2 separate regions of the Homo sapiens genome follow, and region 2 is linked to region 1. The links are contacts of gene promoters, found by promoter capture Hi-C in human tissues and cell types (Jung and others, 2019). All regions are on one chromosome and are shown on one strand. Each heading gives the region's core, a stretch centred on a gene start or on the middle of the fragment in contact. The rest is flanking DNA. Distances are from core to core; before and after follow the strand shown.

What was found. The method cuts DNA at HindIII sites, captures the fragments that hold promoters and counts their contacts. A contact is called where the count stands out against the background at its distance.
Region 2: a fragment that was not itself captured here is called in contact with the fragment with the promoter of HEYL in region 1 in 4 of the 25 tissues and cell types used here (IMR-90 fibroblasts, aorta, ovary and 1 more).

Annotation. Positions count from the first base shown.
Region 1 is chr1:39,637,261-39,643,605 of GRCh38, forward strand. It overlaps HEYL (hes related family bHLH transcription factor with YRPW motif like), which reads right to left and starts at 2,383. Exons shown (of 5, transcript NM_014571.4): 1 at 2,286-2,383. The coding sequence starts at 2,365. RefSeq lists silencers at 2,160-2,229, 2,350-2,739. The HindIII fragment of the contact is 11,489 bases long and covers 168-6,345 here.
Region 2 is chr1:39,578,470-39,584,779 of GRCh38, forward strand. No RefSeq gene overlaps it. Among named protein-coding and RNA genes, the nearest start is that of PABPC4, 4.8 kb to the left of the region's middle. The HindIII fragment of the contact is 4,000 bases long and covers 1-3,835 here.

The DNA.
Region 1 (6,345 bases), core at 1,133-3,632:
ACAGATGTGGCAGGACTGCCACCAGGCAGATGCCACAGTGATGGTGGAACACACCCTGCTCTTTACTCTCACGTTTCTGAGTGTGGGGGTTTTGCGCCCTGCCCCTGACCCCGAGAGGCTGGCTGCCTCCGTCCTGCGGCCTTTGTCAGTGTTTATCTGCTTTCTTTGTACATGAAGCTCTTCTTCCCTGAGAGTTCCCTGAGGGCAGAGGCTGAGCAGGATACATCTGGGCCCCCTATGCCCAGCCCAGGGTCTGGGCCACAGCAGGCATCGTTCAGTGCTCCCTGAATTGAAGCATTGATGTCTGCTGGGGGAAGGGCCCTTTGGTGAGTGCTACAAAGGGGCATCTATAAGTCAGCCTCTGCCAGATGTCCAGCTGCTTTCTCTCCTCAGAGGGGTCTGCTCCTCTAAGAACAGTGTCTAAAAATGGGCTCTGTATATATAGGAAATGCTGTATGTATAGGAAAAAACTGCCCACTGATCCTTTATGCCTCATGTAAGCAGTTGCCCAGATGCTACTATCTTCAAGAAGCCCTCCTTGCCATCTTTGATTAAGAGTGACCTCTCTTTGCTTAAGTGCCCTCACAGCCCACAGTCTGTCTCCTTTCCATCCTGTCCATGGTGTTTTTATGACCTGGCAGGTCACTGACTGGGCTGCAAACTTGTGGAGGACAGAAGCCAGCTCTGATCAACCTAGTTCTCTGGCATCAATTTTGTGCCTCTGATCTATGAAGACCCAATGCCATTGAATTTGAGACCCCGCTCCACCACCACCACGTGGTGCTGTGCCCTTTCCTGGCCCTTAACAGGCACAGGCTAAGATAACTGCTTTTCTAAATAGCAGTTTCTGCTAAACAATTAAGAAAGGCTAATACGTTGCATAGCGAGTTGTGTTATACTCCCTAAAAACAAATGTACAGGCTGCAAGAGGAATATCTATTATGGCATTTTCCTGGGATTTGAGACTGAGGCAGGATCCTTGGATCTCAGAAAACTGGAGAGCACTAAAATTACAAAATGTCCTCAAAAACATCCCTAAGAATTAACTGGGCCTGGCTCACTGGCTTATGTCTGTAATCCCAACACTTTGGGAGGCCAAGGCAGGAGGATCACTTAAGCCCAGGAGATCAAGGTTGCCATGAGCTATGATCATGCCACTGCACTCCAGCATGGGCAACAGAGTGAGACCATGTCAAAAAGAAAGAAAGAAAGAATTAACTGAATTCCCCTCCAATTCTGTTCTAGAGAGTCAAGTCTAGATGAGCCAAGAGAGATGAAGTATATCCCTTTCTTTTCCACTGCTGTCTTTGTTTTACTGATGGGGAAACTGATGACAGACTCTGTCAGGGAAACCAATGGCCCAAGACCACATAGTGAGTTGGTGGCAGATTTGGGGCTGGGACCCAGGTCTGCAGACTCCCAGTCAGCCCTGCAGCTCTTTCAGGGTGCTGGGAATCACATGGTGTGTACCTAGGCATGTGCTGTGCTAAGCCCTTGACATACTTTGCCTCATTTGGTTTTCCCAATATTTCCATGAAGTTGGTTCTATTATTCATGCTCATTTAACAGATAAGGAAACTGAAGCTTAGACAGTTTACAGAACTGCGAGGTAGCAGAACTATACAAGCGCAGTTTGTTCGACAGGTTTGAAGCAGGTCAGACTATCTACCAGGAGCTGAAAGACACTGGCAGTATGGGGGCACGATAGGAGGAACATTGGAATTAGAGTCTAGGCCCTTGCAAGTCGCTTATTATTTTCTTCAATACTAAGTCCCTAAATCCAAACTCCAATTTGCTCAAAGGAGGACAAATTTTCTTCTTCCTGAAATAATTTGTGGACTACATGAAAACTGCATCCAAACTAGGGTAAAATTGGGAAAGGATGGGGTTACTCTGCATCGTCAGCAGATTCCAGACAGGGGCCAGAGTACCATCAGTCTATGAGAGTTTTCTAAGATCTCCAGGGAAAACCTGCCAATGGCCTCCCCTAGGCCACTTCAACAGATAGATGATAACCCACTAGCCACCTGATCCCCCGAGCTGAACTCTCCCTCCCTGCCAGCATCCCCAGCCCTGCACGACCGAGAGCGCGCAGGATCCAGGCACTCGTGCGTGTAACGGCACGGCCCGCACACGCCCCCTACGCCGACACCTGTGGCCCCCGCGCTCACCTGCCTCTGCCCAGGCGGTGCTGGAGGGCTGGCCCGCCTGCTCGGCGAGCCCGTCGGGCCGACCCCCACCCCGCTCGCCCTCCGCCTGCTCGGTCCCCGCATCCCGGCCCTTACCTCAGCTGGCCCTCTTGGCCCACGTCGATGGGTCCGTCGGACTCCCCGTCGGAGCCGCTCGGCTCCTTGGGTCGCTTCATGGCGAACGCAGGCTGCCTGGTCTCAGCCCCGCGGCTAAGGCTCCCAGTCGGGAAGTCAGGCCCCGCCCCGGCCCCGCCCCGGCCCCGCCTCGGGGGCGCCGCCACCGCCCTTTCCCAGGGCCCTTTCCTGCGCCGCAGCTCCGGGCGCCCAGGCGCCCCCTCGCCCCCGCGGTGACGCGCCGCCGAGCCGTGGGAAGGCCCTAGGCGGTCGCCGCCTTCATCGACGGCTGGGAGGTCCGGCTCTGCTCCGCTGTCTCGGCTGCCGCGCGCTGGGTGGCCTTGGGCAGGTGCCCTGGGAGGCCCCGCGGGGAAGCCAGGAGTCCCCGTCTGTCCCTGGGTCGCCTGGGCGCTGCTGGCCTGTAGAGGCGCCGCTTCGATGCCCGGGATTCCGCAAGGGTCAACCCTGCGCGCTCCTGCCTCCTGGTGTTCTGGAGGCAGCAGACACATCAAGTTTGTCGAAGTTAGTCGTGGTGGTTGTGGCCTGATCCTCAGCAAGAATTCCCCAGCAGCAACTCCATAGGGGCCCAAAGCAAGTGGAATAGTGTGGTGGGGGCAAGGGGAAGACACTTACACTTCTGAGAGGTGGCAGTCACCCCCAAAAGGGACGGCTGAAGTTGTGGCCACCGCATCTGAGAAAGCTGGGCTCTGGCCGAGGTCCCTAAAGGCCTGGCGTGGTGGCAGTGGTGGGTTGTCCCTGGGAATCAGTTCCCAGTTCACCAGAGGTCGAGTTGTCCTGGGCGGCCAGGAGGCCAGGAAAGGGCTCCTTCTAGACGCTATGGCAGGGCCTCAAAGTGGGAGAAGGAGAGGAAAAGGGAAGATACCTTCCAGCCTCTCTTCCTGGGGCCTCTGCTTCTGGCAACCCATCAAACTGTTCACTCAGGGAGGGCTCTAGCTGCCCTGTCCTTAGGGGGACTTGTGGGAAGTTCTCAGATTCACCGGTCATCCTCAGGCGCCCAGTACCTCAGAGAAGCTCCTAAGGCTCCAAAGGAAGCTGCATGAGAGCATCCTGGAGCTGGACTTCTTGGGCAGGGAAGAGGAGATAGAGGAGGTCTTGGTGTGCTGGGTTAGATATGAGAGGTCTTTTCCTTTTTACCCGCCACCAGGTCAGGACCTGAGGGAAGCCACCCCTTCAAGTGGGAGAATCGGGTTGGTCATCTGAGAATAACTGTGCTTCCATCCCCACAGCAAGGCCTGCTTGCTGGGGGACACTTGATTACTTGATGGGAAAGAATGTTCCTGTGCCCCCGTCCACACACATCCACAGACACAACCATTTGGCCAGGTATGCAAACACATACACACGGACAGACTTACAAATATATACTGGTAGGCGCAACTGTCGTGAGCAATCAGTACCAGGAAGCCCTGGTGGTCGCCCCAGCCACAACTATGGACTCTCATTCCAAATGCCCTCAGCACTCACATCACTTCTGTGGGCACATGCCAGTCAGTGGAAACCTCAACTAACAGAGAAGTTGCACAATGTGTTATGCATTCCCTGGAAAGGCGGAAGTCAAGGAAGCCTCCCAGATAGCTGCCCTGTGTAATTGGCTGAGATAGCAAAGATTGGAAGAGGAGCAGATTTGCAGGGGAAGGTCAAGGGCCCCGTGATGGACGTTTCATGTGAGATGTCTTGGATCATCAAAATACAGTGCACAGTTAAATAGAGGGTATGGAGTTCAGAACAGAGGTCTCAGCTGGATATTAAATTTGGACGTCATTAGGTAATTGATGGCATTTAAAGCTATGGGAGCAGATGGGATCATTCAGAAAACGTGGATGGAGACAGAGCAGGGGCCTAGCTAAATACTTAACATTTGGTGAGCCCTTATTATAAAACCTGAAACTATTCTAAGTCTTTTGTAAATATTAACTCATTTAATCCTTGACAACCCTATAAAGTAGTAATATTATAATCCCCACTTTACAAGTGAGAAACAAAGGCTGAGAGGTAGACTAACTCCACCTAAGGCCAACAGGCAATAAATGGAAGGGCTGGAATTCAACAAGGCAGTTCAGTTCCAGAGCCAAAACATTAGGCTTTATTACTTTATACAGTACTCCCCCTTCTTTTAAAAATAAAGACAAGGATTCACTCTGTCACCAGGCTAGAGTGTAGTGGTGCCATCGTAGCTCACTGAAACCTTGAACTCCTTGGCTCAAGTGATCCTCCCACCTCAGCCTCCTGAATAGCTCAGACTACAGGGGCATACCACCATGCTCAGCTAATTAAAAAAACAACATTTTGCCAGGTGTGGTGGCTCACGCCTGTAATCTCAGCACTTTGGGAGGCTGAGGCAGGCGGATCACAAGGTCAGGAGATCGAGACCATCCTGCCTAACACGGTGAAACCCCATCTCTACTAAAAAATACAAAAAATTAGCCAGGCGTGGTGGCAGGCACCTGTAGTCCCACCTACTCGGGAGGCTGAGTCAGGAGAATGGCGTGAACCCGGGAGGCGGAGCTTGCAGTGAGCCAAGATGGCGCCACTGCACTCCAGCCTGGGCGACAGAGTAAGACTCCGTCTCAAAAAAAAAAAAAAAAAAAAAAAAATTTTTTTTGGTAGAGATGAGATCTCACTATGTTGCCCGGGCTGGTCTTCAACTCCTGGGGCCAAGCAATCTTCCCACCTTGGCCTCCCAAAGTGTTAAGATTACAGGAGTAAGCCACTACACCCCGTCAATTATACAGCTCTTAAACATTGTGATATATTATCCAGTACTGAGCCTAGAGCTATGCCATCAATATAATAGCCACGAACCCCCTATGGCTATTAAGTACTTGAAATGTGGCTGGTCTGAATTGCTGTATGTGCAGTGAGTATGAAATACACACCAGAATTTTTTTAAGTGTGAACTATCTCATTGATATTTTTTGTTATGATTACATGTTGCAATGATAATATTGTATAAATATTGGATGAAATAAAATACATTAGTAAAGTTAACTTCCCTTGTTTTATTTTTAGGTTTTTAAAAATGTGACTACTAGAAAATGTTAAACTGCATATTTGGCTCCCATGATATTCCTATTGGATGGTGCTAATCTGGTGCAGGGTTTCTTAACCTCAGGACTACTGGCATTTTGGGTCAGGTCATTCTTTATTGTGTAGGGCTGTTCTGTGGATTGTAGAATGGTAAGCAGCCTCCCTGGCCTCTATCCACTGGATGCCAGTTATACCCGCTCCAGTTGTGACCATCAGAAATATCTCCAGATAAAATACCAAATGTCCCTTGGGGGAGAAATCGCCCCCAGTTGGGAACCGCTAGTCTGGAGAAACTCCAAGATTTAAAGGTTGTAGAAGAGAAAGAGCTGCCAGAGAAGACTGAAAGGGCAGTGGAGGAGAGTGGGGTGTGTGTGGGGGGGTGTGGGCAGGAGCCAAAAGAGTGTTTCAAGGACTTGGTCATGATCCTTTTAAAATGCCAGTCAGATCATGTCACTTCCTGCTCAAAACCATCCACACGCTTCACATCCCATTTGAAATAAAATGCCAACTGCTTACCATGCCCTATACACAGAACAACTGTAATAACCTGGGCACCTTTGAGAGTGAAAGGAGGCAATACTAATAATCATGCCAGGGCAGTTCAGGGCACACTGGAGGTACCATCTCCTAAGCTCAGGCCCCTGCCCATCTCTCCAGCTTCATCCCCAACCACTTTCTGCCTTGTCCACTCACCCACGACAGCCTTCTTGCCATTTGTATTGGGCCATTCTCACATTGCAGGGGCCAGAGCTTAGGATGACAAACATATAGCAACACATATAATGTAATGTCAGTGATATTAATAGATGCTGTGAAATAAGATAAAGTGAGGTGGAGACATAGGGTGACTGGGGGATTGGTGGCTATTTTACTTAGGGGTCAGGAGATCGTCTCTGAGGATGAATCACTTATGCAGAGACCCGAATGGAGAGAGGGAATCTAAGAAGATCTGGGGAAGAGGATTCCAGGCAGAAGGAACAGCAAGTGGAAAGCC
Region 2 (6,310 bases), core at 586-3,085, 59 kb before region 1:
TGGCTGGGCACGATGGCTCACACCTGTAATCCCAGCACTTTGGCAGGCTGAGGTGAGCGGATCACCTGAGGTCAGGAGTTCGAGACCAGCCTGGCCAACATGGTGAAACCCCATCTCTACTAAAAATACAAAATTAGCCGGGCATGATGGCACGTGCCTATAGTCCCAGCTACTTGGAAGGCTGAGGCAGGAGAATCGCTGGAACCCAGGAGGCAGCGGTTGCAGTAAGCTGAGATCATGCTACTGCACTCCAGCCTGGGTGACAGAGCGAGACTCCGTCTCAAAAAAAAAGGAACATTTATGGGAGTGCTCCTTCTATAGATTCCCTCCTCAGGAAAGTCTTCCTAGACCTCCTGTGGTCTAAAGTAGCCGTCAACATTGTTAATCACTATCACACCAACTTGTCTTCTTGTCTTCAAGCCTGTTATTCCTACCCAAAATTATGTTGTTCTATATCTGTTTACCTGTTTAGTATCTATCTTTTCCACATTGGTATATAAGCTTCATGAGAACAGGAATCTAGAATAGTGCTTAACATAGCACGTACTAAATGTTCAGTAACTGGCCAGGCAGGTGGCTCACACCTATACTCTCAGTGCTTTGGGAGGCTGAGGCAGGAGGATCGCTTGAGCCCAGACATTTGAAACCAGCCTGGGCAACAGAGTGAGACCCTATCTCTACAAAAAAAAATTTTCTTTTAATTGGCTGGGTGTGGGGACACATGCCTGTGGTCTCAGCTACTTGGGAGTCTGAGGTAGGAGGATCGCTTGAGGCCAGGAGTTGAAGGCTGTAGTGAGCTATGATCATGTCGCTGCACTCCAGGCTGAGCAACAGAGTGAGACTCTGTTACTAAAAAATAAATAGATAAATAAATATTCAATATATGTTTGTGTGTGTGTGTGTGTGTGTGTGTGTGTGTGTGTGTGTTTTCTTGTTTTTTTTGTGGGGGGGGTATGAAATCTTCCTCTGTCACCGAGGCTGGAGTGCAGTGGTGCAGTCTCGGCTCACTGCAACCTCTGCCTCCCAGGTTCAAGCAATTCTCATGCCTCAGCCTCCCAAGTAGCTGGGATTGCAGGCATGCGCCACCACACCTGGCTATTTTTTTTTTTGAAACCAACTCTCGCTCTATTGGCAGGCTGGAGTGCAGTACTGCGATCTAGGCTCACTGCAACTTCCGCCTCCCGGATTCAAGCAATTCTCCTGCCTCAGCCTCCCGAGTAGCTGGGACTACAGGTGCGTGCCACCACACCTGGCTAATTTTTGTATTTTTAGTAGAGATGGGGTTTCACCATGTTGGCCAGGATGGTCTCAATCTCTTGACCTTGTAATCTGCCCGCCTCGGCCTCCCAAAGTGCTGGGATTACAGGGGTGAGCCACCACGCCCAGCCTTTTTTTTTTTTTTTTTTTTTTTGAGACAGAGACTTGCTCTGTCACCCAGGCTGGAGTGCAGTGGCGTGATGTCGGCTCACTGCAACCGCCACCTCCCGGATTCAAGTGATTCTCCTGCCTCAGCCTCCCAAGTAGCTGGAATTACAGGCACCCACCACTATGCCCAGCTACTTTTTGTATTTTCAGTAGAGATGGGATTTCACCATGTTGCCCAGGCTGGTCTCCGACTGCTGACCTCAGGTGATGTATTCGTCTCGGCTTCCCCAAGTGCTGGGATTACAGGCGTGAGCCACACACCCAGCCTGTGTATTTTTTTTTTTGTTTTTTTGTTTTTTTTGAGACTGGGTCTCGCTCTGTTGCCCAGGCTGGAGTGCAGTGGCGCGATCTTGGCTCACTGCAAGCTCTGCCTCCCGGGTTCACGCCATTCTCCTGCCTCAGCCTCCCGAGTAGCTGGGACCACAGGTGCCCACTACCACGCCCGGCTAATTTTTTGTATTTTTTAGTAAAGATGGGGTTTCACTGTGCTAGCCAGGATGGTCTTGATCTCCTGACCTCGTGATCCGCCCACCTTGGCCTCCCAAAGTGCTGGGATTACAGGCATGAGCCACTGCATGTATTTTTTTTTAAGCAACAAAGTCTCACTGTGTTGCCCAGGCTGGAGTGCAGTGGCCTGATCATAGCTCACTGCAGCCTCAAACTCCTGACCTCAAGCGATCCACTTTGGCTTCTTAAAGTGTTGGGATTACAGGCATAAACCACTGCACCTGGCCTAAATATTTGTTAAATAAACAAATGAATACTAGGCACAGATGAGCAAAACCCACACAAGCTCTGACCTCCTGAAGCTTATTGTCTATTGGGGGAGCTTATTACCTATATTACTTTGGGCAAGCTAGTTCACATCTCTGACCCTCAAATTTCTCATCTGAACTATACTAATAAACCTTATTAACAATTAAAAGGGTTATTGTGAGAATAAATGAATACATATAAATACACATAAATTGTTTGGATTAATTTTTTTTTTGAGATGTCTCACTTTGTCGCCCAGGCTGGAATGCAGTGGTGCGATCTCAGCTCACTGCAACCTCTGCCTCTCAGGTTCAAGCGATTCTCCTGCCTCAGCCTCCCTAGTAGCTGGGACTACAGGCATACATCGCCACACTGGGCTAATTTTTTGTATTTTAGTAGAGACAGGTTTTCACAATGTTGCCCAGCCTGGTTGCGAACTCCTGAGCTCAGGCAATCCGCCCCCACCTCAGTCTCCCAAAGTGTTGGGATTACAGGTGTAAGCCACCATGTGCCCAGCCTTGGATGAATGTTAATAGCTATTACTATCAAGCTACATTTGTACTAAGAAAGGAGGCGGAGGCCGGGCGCGGTGGCTCACGCCTGTAATCCCAGCACTTTGGGAGGCTGAGGCAGGCAGATCACCTGAGGTCAGGAGTTCGATACCAGACTGACGGACATGGAGAAACCCCATCTCTACTAAAAAAACAAAATTAGCCAGGCGTGGTGGTGCATGCCTGTAATCCTAGCTACTCCAGAGGCTGAGGCTGGAGAATCACTTGAACCGGGGAGGTGGAGGTTGCGGTGAGCCGAGATTGCGCCATTGCACTCCAGCCTGGGCAACAGGAGTGAAACTCTGTCTCAAAAAAAAAAAAAAAAAGTAAAATAAAAAGAAAGGAGGGGAGTCCCTAAATGAAGTCAGGGAGAACAGCATCTATAAAGGCCCTAAGTGCCAGGCGTGGTGGCTGCCGCCTGTAATTGCCTGTAATTCCAGCACTTTGGGAGGCCAAGGAGAGCAGATCACCTGAGGTCAGGAGTTTGAGACCAGCCTGACCAACATGGTAAAACCCCGTCTCTACTAAAAATAGAAAATTAGCCGGATGTGGTGGCAGGTGCCTATAATCCCAGCTACTTGGGAGGCTGAGGGAGGAGAATCATGTGAATCCGGGAGGCAGAGGTTGCAGTGAGCCAAGGTTGTGCCACTGCACTCCAGCCTGGGCGACTGAGAGAGACTCTGTCTGAAAAAAAAAAAAAAGCCCTAAGGGAGACAAACTGTGGAGTTGTGGGAAATGAAAGAGATGGCCTTAAAACACTTAGGATTTTATCCTCAGATCAAAGAGTAAAGCTGCAGGATTTTAAGAGCAAAGTGCCTTCGCTCAAATTACTTTTTTCTTTCTTTTTTTTTTTTTTGTTTTGAGAGGGAGTCTCACTCTGTCGCCCGGGCTGGAATGCAGTAGTGGGATCTCCACTCACTGCAAACTCCGCCTCCCGGGTTCACGCCATTCTGCTGCCTCAGCCTCCCGAGTAGCTGGGACAACAGGTGCCTGCCACCACGCCCGGCTAATTTTCTGTATTTTTTAGTAGAAATGGGGTTTCACTGTGTTAACCAGGATGGTCTTGATCTCCTGACCTCGTGATCCGCCCGCCTGGGCCTCCCAAAGTGCTGGGATTACAGGCGTGAGCCACTGCGCCCAGCCCAAATTACTTTTTTCTTTTTGAGACAGGGTCTCTCTCTGTTGCCCAGGCTGGAGTGCAGTGGCACAGTCATGGCTCACTGTAGCCTCAACCTCCTAGGCTCAAGCGATCCTCCTGCCTCAGCCTCCTGAGTAGCTGAGACCACAGGTACACACCACCACACCCTGCTAATTTATTTTTTGTAGAGATGTGGTCGCACTATGTTGCTCATGCTGGTCTCGAACTCCTGGGCTCAATCGATCCTCCCCTCCACGGCCTCCCAAAGTGTTGGGATTACAGGCCTGAGTCACTACACCTGGCCCCCTCAAGTTACATTTTTAAAAAACCTAGGCCGGGCACGGTGGCTCACACCTGTAATCCTAGCACTTTGGGAGGCCAAAGCGGATGGATCACAAGGTCAAGAGATCGAGACCATCCTGGCCAACATGGTGAAACTCCGTCTTTACTAAAAATACAAAATAGCTGGGCGTGGTGGCATGTGCCTGTAGTCTCAGCTATTCGGGAGGCTGAGGCAGGAGAATCACTTGAACCCAGAAGGAGGAGGTTGCAGTGAGCTGACACAATGCCACTGCACTCCAGCCTGGCAACAAAGTGAGACTCTGTCTCAAAAAAAAAAAAAAAAACCTGTCTGACTGCAAATGGAAAAGGATTAGAGGATAGGTACAAGGAGACCTATGAGGCGATGGCTGCTAAGGTGGTGGCCATGGAGGTGGAGGATGTGTGTCAATTAGGGACATACTTAGTATAATTTCTGATTAATTGGATGTAGGAGGTGAGAGAGTGAGGAGTCAAGGACGGCTCCCAAGTTTCTGGGAAACCAAAACAATTTCGATTCCTTGCATCTAAACACAAGGTTATCACTGAATTAGTCTTAGAGGGGAAAGATATGCAAAGCTACCAGAGGAGTCACCCAGACTCCAGGTCTGCAAAATCTAAACAGGCCTTCATGGGACAAAAAGTAGGGTTGGAAGAGGCTGGACAAGTAACCAGGCTAGTGATCTGAAAGGAGGCTTGTGCACATCAGTACAAATCTGCCCTTGCTGGGGTGGGAAGTGGTATGATTTTTTTTTTTCCACTGGGACTGAACCTATTCTTGGTGGGTCTATACTTGAGAGATGGTCTTGACATGTCAAGAGAAAGAATATGTTCAGGGTTGGGAAGAGGAAGAAGGAAGAACTTCAAGGTGGGGAGATGGATATAGAGGCTGCTCTCTGCAGCTATTTTTTTTTTTTTTTTTGAAACGGAGTTTCGCTCTTATTGCCCAGGCGGAGTGCAATGGCACGAACTCGGCTTACCATAGCCTCCGCCTCCTGGGTTCAAGCAATTCTCCTGCCTCAGCCTCCTGAAAGCTGAGGATTTTACACGTAGCAGAAATGTAAGAGCTTTGCCTTCTGGCATCATTTGTTTGTTCACTCAGCAAACTTATGTGGCATTCCTAAGAGCCAGGTTCTCTCTGCTCTGGGTGCTGGGGACAGAACTGTGAGCTAAACGTTCACCGAACAACCTCTTCTTGGAGAGAGTGAGAGAGACAAGCAGTGTGTGTGTGTAAGTTGTTGGAAAAAGCTTTGAATCTGAAGGTAAGAGCAAGGAAACCCCAGCCCCATCCACCCAGCAGGAGGCCAATTCTCCTCACAAAACCTCGATTTCCTGTAAGCAGCAATGGTTCTGCCACTCAGGGAGGAAGACTCTCCTTGTCCAGAGACAGGGTCTCTGAAATCCTAGAGGTCTGGCCCAAGCACCAAGACAGGCTGCACAACTGTAGACAGTAGTTGTCACATCTCCAAGCCTCCCATCTGTGTGATGAGCTCAGTAAGTCCTTTTAAGAATAGAGACCAGGCTAACACGGTGAAACCCCATCTCTACTAAAAATACAAAAACTTAGTCGGGCGTGGTGGCGGGCGCCTGTAGTCCAGCTACTCGGGAGGCAGAGGCAGGAGAATGGCGTGAACCCGGAAGGCGGAGCTTGCAATGAGCCGAGATCGCGCCACTGCACTCCAGCTTGGGTGACACTGCGAGACTCTGTCTCAAAAAAAAAAAAAAAAGAAAAAAAAGTCGGTTAGGTCAAAAGGGCTCTGCCCCTATGAATGGATTAATGCTGTTATCAAAGGAGTGGGTTCCTGATAAAAGGAAGAGCTGGGCCCTTTCCCTCCCCACCACACACTCCCTCACCTTTCCACCTTCTGCCATGGGATGACAGAAGGCCCTGGCCAGATGCAGGCCCTTCAGTCTTGGGTTTCCCAGCCTCCAGAACTGTGAGAAATAAATCTCTGTTCTTTATAAACTACCCAATCTGTGGTATTCTGTTATAGCAGCACAAAACGGATGAAGACACCAACATTTATTGAGCACCTACTATGTGTCAAGATCATTTTCAGACCTCAAACCAGGACTAAATGTGTGTGTGGCATGACCAAGAACCAGATATTAAAAGCTGAAA